Linked DNA regions of Homo sapiens: region 2 is linked to region 1. The links are contacts of gene promoters, found by promoter capture Hi-C in blood cells and fetal thymus (Javierre and others, 2016). All regions are on one chromosome and are shown on one strand. The core of a region is centred on a gene start or on the middle of the fragment in contact, and the rest is flanking DNA. Distances in the headings are between cores, read along the strand shown.

Region 1 (4,214 bases), core at 627-3,126:
GTGAGATGAAAAAACTTAAGCAAAATACCAACACACACACACACACACACACACACACACACGTAAACACACACAGTCCTCTTCAGATAATTTTGGCTGATGACACTGCAGAACAGTTAATCTGATAATTAAAAATTTCCAGAACATGTGATGTTTAGATGGAGATCTATGCTGTCAATCGGACCTCAGTGCTTCAGTTAAAAGGAAAAAAAAAAAACACCAAAAACTTAAAACCTGAATACAAAGACACGTTAAATTGTTAAGACTGTAGTTGCTTTGAAAGCAAAGTGTTTTGATTTATCCAAACTAACTTAGCAACACGGTATTTTGAGTATTTTCCAGAAGTTTTCTTAAAACACGCAATCCAGCACATAAACAAATTTTGTACGGTGCAATGTAAGCAAATACTCAGAAAAATTCAATTTCTAAGCAGGATAACATATGACCAATATTGCCCTCAGTGGTTCAAAAGTCGCAGTAGAAATAATCCCCTGAGATAACCTGGAATTTACCTACCCAAGTATTCTAAGGGGTTCTCCCCGGCCACACAAACTATGATTCAAAACATCGTTCCGAAAACCCAGGTCCTGCATGTGCACAAAGGCGCAGTGCTGGAATGAGGAAGCTTCACCAAGATGAAATCACAACTCTAATTCATTAAAGAATATGCAGACTGTTTTCTAGAAAGACCCTCTTGTTGCGCTCCCTTTACCCTACCCTTTATTTAACCATGTAAACAGTCTCAATTATTGACATAAAAAAATAGCTTTCGATTCCCAAGTCTGGTAACACGGTTGGCCACCATCACTATTCCTTTAGCATCCTAAAATAAACCCCTCGAGCCGAGGTCAAAAACACGCCGGCTGAACGTCTGGTGTTTACATAGCCCAATCCCGGGCCCTACCCTACCTTTCCGAGCCACTTAAGAGCCATGGAACAGGCATCACATAATACACTTAGTAAAGAGACAAGTCACATGAGTCAGTGTCTCAGGTCTATGAATGAAAGATCTAAGCGTTTGTCTCAGCTAAAAGGAAAAAACAACCTCGAAAGGAAGGGTGGGAGGGGAGCTGGCGGGGGTGAGGGGAGCGGTGTTCCTTCCATACCCCTGCCGGGCGATTTAAACCCAGTAAGAGGCAAACGCAGGGCCGCCAGGCTGGCGGGGCCGGAGTCCTCGGGCGTGACAGCCCCTCAAGAAAAGCTCGCGGTTTCGCGCCCGCGTCCCTTGAGCCGCAGTCCTCGCGGCAGCCCCTCCACCCGCGGGCTGGGTGGGCGTGCAGGGCGCGGGAGACAGAGCCACCGCGGCCGGGGCGGCGGCCCTGGGCGCACTTCCTCAACCTCCAGCCGCCCCGTCCCCAAAACTGGGAGTAGAAGCAAAGGAAGAGCGAGGCGGCAGCCAGAGAGAAAGGAGAGGGAGCGGCGAGCCCTCGCCTCTGCAGCTAGGAGAGGCCAGAGGCAGGCGAGGGAGAGGGTGCGGCGATCGCAGGCGAACTCCGCCGCGGGCCGACGCTGGGAGACGACCAGCCCGTAGCCTCCGCCCAACACGGCGGGCGCGCCCGGGAGTCTCCGGCACCCACCCGGTCCCCATTCCCACCGCACCCGCTACCGGCCAGTCCGCGCTCTACTCACGCTCGGGGCTCTTCCAGGCTCCGCGGCTCTAACCGCATCGGGTCCCAGCCCCGCGGGCGGCGGCGGCGGCGCCGAGGGAGAGGAGAGCGGGCGGCACGGCCCCCGCCTCCCGGCCCCTCTCCCCCGCCGCTCCGGAGCTGCCCGGCCGGGCCCGAGCCCTGCCTCGCCGGCGGCCCCAGCCCCAGTCCCAGCGGCCGCGGCAGCAGCAGCCCGACACCTCAGCGGCCGCAGCGGCGGCACCGGAACTGCCGCTTTCTACTTCTCGCTCCCTCTCCTCGCTAGCCCCCGCCACACGCCCCCGCCCCCGACTCCTTTCTCCGTCGCCCCTGTTTTTTTTTCCTTTTGTTTCCAGAATAAACTTTATTGGTCTCTTTTTCCGCTCACATCGTGTAAACAAACAACGAACTCTTCCCCACCCCCTCGGCCCCCCCCCTCCTCCGGCAGAAGAGGGTAAGAGCTGAGGAGGGGCAGAGCCTACAATCCCCCGGAAGCAGATGCGCAAAGAAGCGGAAGCGAAATTGAGGCGAGGAGGAGCAGGGAGTGGGCAAATAGGGTAACAATATGTGCTACTGCGCCTGCGTCTTGCTTTTCCGCCCGAAGTTTATGTACAGTTGGGGCTGCTCTTCTGACGTTTGTTTAATGATCCGTCTTCTGCAGTAGTGAGGGTGTTGTGTCATCCTAGGACAGCGTACGTGTAGTATATTTGTTTCTACGAGCAGCAGGCGAGCTGGGGTAGAGATATAGAAAGGAATATTGGGAGCAAGTGGGTTATTTCACTTTTACACCCATAGAGGAAACGAGATTAGTTCGGGGGTGAGAGGAGGTGCGGTGGCTAACCGCCGCTGTCAGTGGCTAACCAGCGTGGTTATGGATTCTATAATAGAAAGAATGCTTTTTACAAAGCGTTGCTGTGCGTTCTTCTGCCGACATGGTTTAAGTTGTATACCATCCCGAAGGCGGAATGCACTGTCACAGCCCTCTGCAGTCCTTTGACTCACTTCGTGGAGACCTTTTGCTATGCCCTCATTTTTTTTTTTAAATCGAATTCTGATTCGAAGCAGCTTGTAGGATTCAATTCTAACTATTCAGAAGACGTGGGGGATTTTTCGCGTAATGCCAACAGAGACTTCAGAAATGTCATATAGGCTATAGATTTGATTCAAGGTAGTGTCTTGGTGCTGCGTACCTTAGAAGTCTGTTTGCTTGAGAGTAAATCAATCTGTTGACTTTTGAGATTACTACTGATAAGGGTTCGGTACTGTGCGTTTTTCTCCCCCTACTGGTCTTTTGTTGTAATATTGGAAAAGCGTAGGAGCAGTGATTAGAAGTCTGAGATACAAGTACTCCAGCATCGGTTCCTCCTTGAATTTTTAAGTAATAGAGGGCTTGGGAAGTGACCCATCCTAGAGATGTTACAGTCCTACTTGTCCTCTAGAGCAAAACTCTGACCAATAACAGTCTTCTCGAACACCGCACGTCCGTCCATACCCCAATGGTAAATGAGATGGATCTGTTCCTCTTTGTGGTCGTAGTTTCACTTGACTGTATTTCTTTCTTTTCTGTGTTTTCTTTCTTTCGTCCTTTTTCTCCCTTTAGCTCGGATTTTCATCTCACATTCCAGGGGTTTGTGTTTCTAAATGTTTTTCTCGAACCAATGTTCTTCAACAGTTTTAGAACACTGTTACTCCAGAGTACAGATTTTTTTAAAAAAGGAACACTGAATTGCTAGTCAAAGTAAATTTTAAGGCAATATATCCCAAATTGTGTTTCAAGCACAGAGTTATATGAGATATTAATAGGTAGACCTTGGTGGGGAAAAATATACTAGGGATATTTTTCCTTATAAAATTTATTATTTATTTATTATTATTATTTTTTTGAGCCAGAGTCTCACTCTGTAGCCCAGGCTGGAGTTCAGCGGTGCAGTCTCGGCTCACTGCAGCCTCTGCCTCCCGGGTTCAAGCGATTCTTCTGCCTCAGCCTCCCGAGTAGCTGGGATTACAGGCACCAGCCAACATGCCAGCTAATTTTTGTATTTCTTAGTAGAGACGGGGTTTCACCATGTTGGTCAGGCTGGTCTCAAACTTCTGACTTCAGGTGATCCACCCCCCTCGACTTCCCAGAGTGCTAGGATTACAGGCGTAAGCCACCGCACCTGGCCTATTTGTGATTTTTAAAAATGTTTTATTTTTTGTAAAGACAGGGTCTTGCTTCGTTGCCCAGACTGGTCTCCAACTCCTGGGCTCAAGAGATTCATCTACCTCGGCCTCCCAAAGTGTTGGGATTACAGACTTCAGCCGACATGCCCAGCCTAAAATTTATTTTTTAATAAGAAAATGCTAATTACATAATATGTTTTTTGTTATGTGATTATCTGCCCCTAAGAAGTTGTGTGTCATAGCAGAAAAAGCCATACCTGGTACTTGAATGCATGACACCATTCATTGGTACAGGAGTAGCATTTACTATTCAATTCACGGTTGATAATGTTTGCCTTATATGTAAGCCATTGGTCTTAGGTGTCATCTTGCTTTCAAAGGTTTTTGCAATGTTATTCAGTGTTTAAAATATCTATATGATATAAA
Region 2 (4,128 bases), core at 609-3,108, 4.7 Mb after region 1:
TTACATTTTCTGTTTATCTCTATTGTAGGTATTTTATGAAATAATAAAAAGCATCCTAAAGATTTTTAGAAGTAGGAATACTTATATTGTAACAGTTTTAAATTACTGATATTAGTGGTATCAATATTGTGTTAGATTAAATTGTCATCCACAGATATGCACTTCCTTATCCCTGAAGGAGGGGTATATATCCATGCCAATTGCTAGGTGAGTTGCAGTGCTTCCCCATGTGAACAATATACATACCTATACTATTCATGCTATGCTTGATCATGCGGGTGATATGTGCCACATCCAAGCAGGAGTTTTGAGAACCATGTAATAACAGTGTGTCCCAAATAGGGGCTCAGCCCCACATCCTACTCACAGTGACCCTCAGTTGATATGAAATGCAAGTAACTCATAAACATTTGTTTGTGTAAGCCACTAAAATTGTGGAATTATCCTTTACCTCAAATCCAATCTGACTAATATAATCATTATTATTGTACATGAATCTGGAACTTAAGAATAATGTATAAGAATGAGTGATATTGACTAGGGAGGGGATGTAGTAGGATGAGAAAACAGGAGCATCAACAATCACCAACATTTAAGGAGTGCAGAGAGGAACTAGATGCTGCAAAGGACACTGATAAAGAGCGGACTGAGTTGTAGAAGGATCAGAATAAAAACCAGAGTATTTTTCATGGAAGCTGACTAGTAAGGCTTTCATCAGAAAAACATAAGCATAAACACCTCTAATTATTTTAATCAGAAAGATTTGTTATAACTTATTAGAAATTTGGACAATTGCTGTTAATAATCGCAGCTGACTACATGTTTGCAGAAGCCGTTACTGGTGCCCATTGATTCCAGAAAAATAATTGATTTTTGCTTCCTCTCTTTCAAATCTCAAGCAAGTTCTCATTGTTAGAATGTAAATTACTGCAAAATTCTGGTGGGAAAGGAATTTGAAAATTTTAATTCCTGGTGTTTCTAGCTCCAACAATAATTAGAAGAGAGTAGAAAGGAGTGAGGATGAATGTTTACTGAAAAAAAAAATCTAGCACAAAAGCCAATAGAGGAAAGGATTTCGGAAAAAGAAGAAAAGTGCCAATGAGGCCAAATAACTTAAAGAGGTAAAATACTATATGAACTAGAAGTAGCCATTAGAATTATGAACTAGAGGGATTATTGGAAATCATTTCCAAAATAATTATATTGAAAAGTTATATATGAAAATCTTCTTTGAATGACTTTAAATGGATATGAGAAATGAAAAAACATCGACCACTCTTTCAAGATAGGAATAGAAATAAGGATAAGGAGAGAAAGAAAAGGGGTGGCAAAATAAAGAAAAGAGATGATGCAGGATCAAGAAAAAATAATTTTAAAGTGATCGAGACTCACTCATGTTTCAGGTAGAGAGGAAGTAGTAAATAGAGAAGGAAGCGCTGAAGGTACCAACAAGAATACAGTTAATGTAGCAAGTCCCAGAAGAAAATGCATGTGTATAGGAATCAGATTACAAGTAGTAGGCTAACCTCTAAGAGAAGGTGGGATGCCAGCATCCTCTAAGACTTAATTAAGGGAAAGAGATGAAGATGGGCATAATTGTAGATATCCTTGTAGCTAAGAAAACGAAATAGAATGTAAGGAATTTATGCACAAATGATGTTTCTTTTTCTCATAAAAAGGAGGGCAGAGTTATCTGCTTATCAAATGAACAAAAATAAAAATGAATAGTTCTCAGTGCTGGTGAAGGTATTTTAAACTAGAATCTTACACATTGTTGTTGAGAATATAAGTCATCTATTTTTCTGGTAGTAATATGGCAATCTGGATTGAGAAATTTATGTAAACACTTACCTATAACTGGGCCTATATGTCAATTTTGCCCTGCGCCTGCATTGAAGACAGTTGCAGCATAGTCTTGCTAAGCCAAAACCCCAACAAATTTAAGTACAAATGCATTAGTAAAAAATGCACTGATGAGAATTACATTACAGTCACAATACAAAACTTTCTATAAAGTTTTTGGCTTGGGGAAGGCAAGAAAAACTCTCAAACTAATCTTTTGATGCCCCTTAGAATTGTTATAGACCTTATAAATATACAAATATAAAGAAATGGAAAGTTTGAGTGAAGTCACATAGTGCTTCTTTTTACCTTCTCATATCATCCTTAAGTACTCAATAGACCCAAGTTCAAAAGATGGTACATAATCACCAGATGTCCAAAGCACTTCTCTCTAGGTTAAGAGGCAGATTTTCTAGACAGCTATGAATGCTAGAACTTGATGGACTGCATACCTAGGACATGCAGACAGTGGCTTAAGAACTTCTTCCGGATCACCAGACTAGTCTACAGCTCTACTAATAGGACAAATGTATGTGTGGGACAGATTTTTTTAAAAGCAGCAATAATAACATTGTATGCTTGTTGCACATCAGGAACTATTCCAACTACTTTACATGTGTTAACTCACTTATTTCTAAAAATAACCCTTTTGAGATATTTATATTGTCGTCTGCATTTTACAGATGGTGCAACTGATCTGCAGAGAAGCTAATTAACTTGCCCAAAGTTATGGAGCTAAGGAATGGCTTTAGAAAGCAAAAGAAAAATTTTTTATTAAGAAATGAAAAGAAAAAAGACGCAGTATGGTGAGGCCCTATGTACAATTTATTCTACATAAGAAGGTGGTGGGGATCAAATGCAGTATGCATTCATTGAATAAACAACAGTATATGTTGTTGGTCTTTCCTCAGTGCTATGTTAACTCTCCTGTTCTTTGTCATTATGGTCTAAAAGAACCTTGATCATGTGGACATATTACAAAATAATGTATTGGTACACTAGATTTATGACATCTTATTAACGGAAACTGATGAGCAATAGATGGAAAATACTCTGGGTACCTTGTTAAAATATATGTTTCAAGAGGTGGGAGATAAACTCTATAAAGTTTCAAGGACATGATACTTCGCTGAAGTTTTTAGTGATCTTGTCATCCAGGGCATCTCTTCCAAAGTAAACAACAATTTATCGCACTACTCACCAATACGGAATAAGTACAAATCTTAGTGAGTTCATTTGGATTTTAGAAGTAGCATATTTTGCACCTGAAATGCTGCCCAAAACCTTCTGTTGGATGGTTTGGGAGTCTGCTAGTTTTGAGTGCAAACTCAGAGTAAGTAAGGGCTCTGACTGTGGGCTCTGACATGTTCTGACTGTGGTATAGGTAGATCTGCTTGGACCATATAACCCATCATATACGAAGGTATTAGAGAAAGATGCTCTCTCGAGCCTCTAGCAAAAGTGAAAAGCAGAGTCAAAGTGTACACTCTTACATTCCAGAGCAAGGGCATGCCACCTGTACTGGCTACCAGTTGATTTATTTTTAGCTTCAAATTTTTGTATTTGCCTGCTCTGCATTAATGGAGCTAAGTCCTTTAAATATTTAAATATTTTCCTTTGGGGACCGGGAGTGGTGGCTCATGCCTGTAATCCCAGCACTTTGGGAGGCTGAGGCTGGCGGATCATCTGAGGTCCAGAGTTCGAGACCAGCCTGGCCAACATGGCAAAATCCCGTCTCTACTAAAAATATAAAAAAGTAGCTGGACATGGCAGTGGATGCCTGTAATCCCAGCTACTTGGCAGGGTGAAGAGGGAGAATCACTTGAACCTGGGCAGCGGAGGTTGCTGTGAGCCAAGATCGCACCACTGCACTTCAGCCTGGGTGACAGAGCAAAACTCCGTCCCCACTGCCCAGCCCCCTACAAAAAATATGTGTGTGTGTGTACACACACATACATACATATATTTTCCTTTTGAAAGTTGGCACTGATTTCTTAGCTGAGGGCATTGGAGAGACATTGCAAGGACAAAATGGTTTTGCTTCCTATTTCCCAATGCATGGTTGGTTTCTGAACGCTCCTGCAGCGCACAAAACTTCCCCTATACTGCTGCAGCATACAAAGCTTCTCTAGCACCAAGCTCTTGCAACACTTGTAATTTCTCCAGTGCTGGACTCCTTCAGTGCACATTGGCCATCATCACCCAACGGTCAGCAGCTACCCCCAGAACCTCTCATAGTGGGAGTTTGTGGTAAATTGCCTTCATTAAGACACCTTCCTATTCTAT

The links. The method cuts DNA at HindIII sites, captures the fragments that hold promoters and counts their contacts. A CHiCAGO score of 5 or more calls a contact.
Region 2: a fragment that was not itself captured here is called in contact with the fragment with the promoter of PIK3CA in region 1 in 1 of 17 cell types (M1 macrophages); the score reaches 6.2 in M1 macrophages.

What each region holds. Positions count from the first base shown.
Region 1 is chr3:179,146,019-179,150,232 of GRCh38, reverse strand. PIK3CA (phosphatidylinositol-4,5-bisphosphate 3-kinase catalytic subunit alpha) reads right to left here and starts at 1,876. Exons shown (of 21, transcript NM_006218.4): 1 at 1,630-1,876. PIK3CA-DT (PIK3CA divergent transcript) reads left to right here and starts at 2,260. Exons shown (of 3, transcript NR_125401.1): 1 at 2,260-2,317. RefSeq lists enhancers at 402-451, 1,013-1,512, 2,322-2,441, 3,052-3,161 and silencers at 1,252-1,301, 1,362-1,831. The HindIII fragment of the contact is 3,906 bases long and covers 628-4,214 here.
Region 2 is chr3:174,417,580-174,421,707 of GRCh38, reverse strand. It overlaps LOC105374226 (a long non-coding RNA gene), which reads left to right. Exons shown (of 4, transcript XR_924729.3): 3 at 2,526-2,648. Among named protein-coding and RNA genes, the nearest start is that of NAALADL2, 440 kb to the left of the region's middle. The HindIII fragment of the contact is 4,219 bases long and covers 1-3,967 here.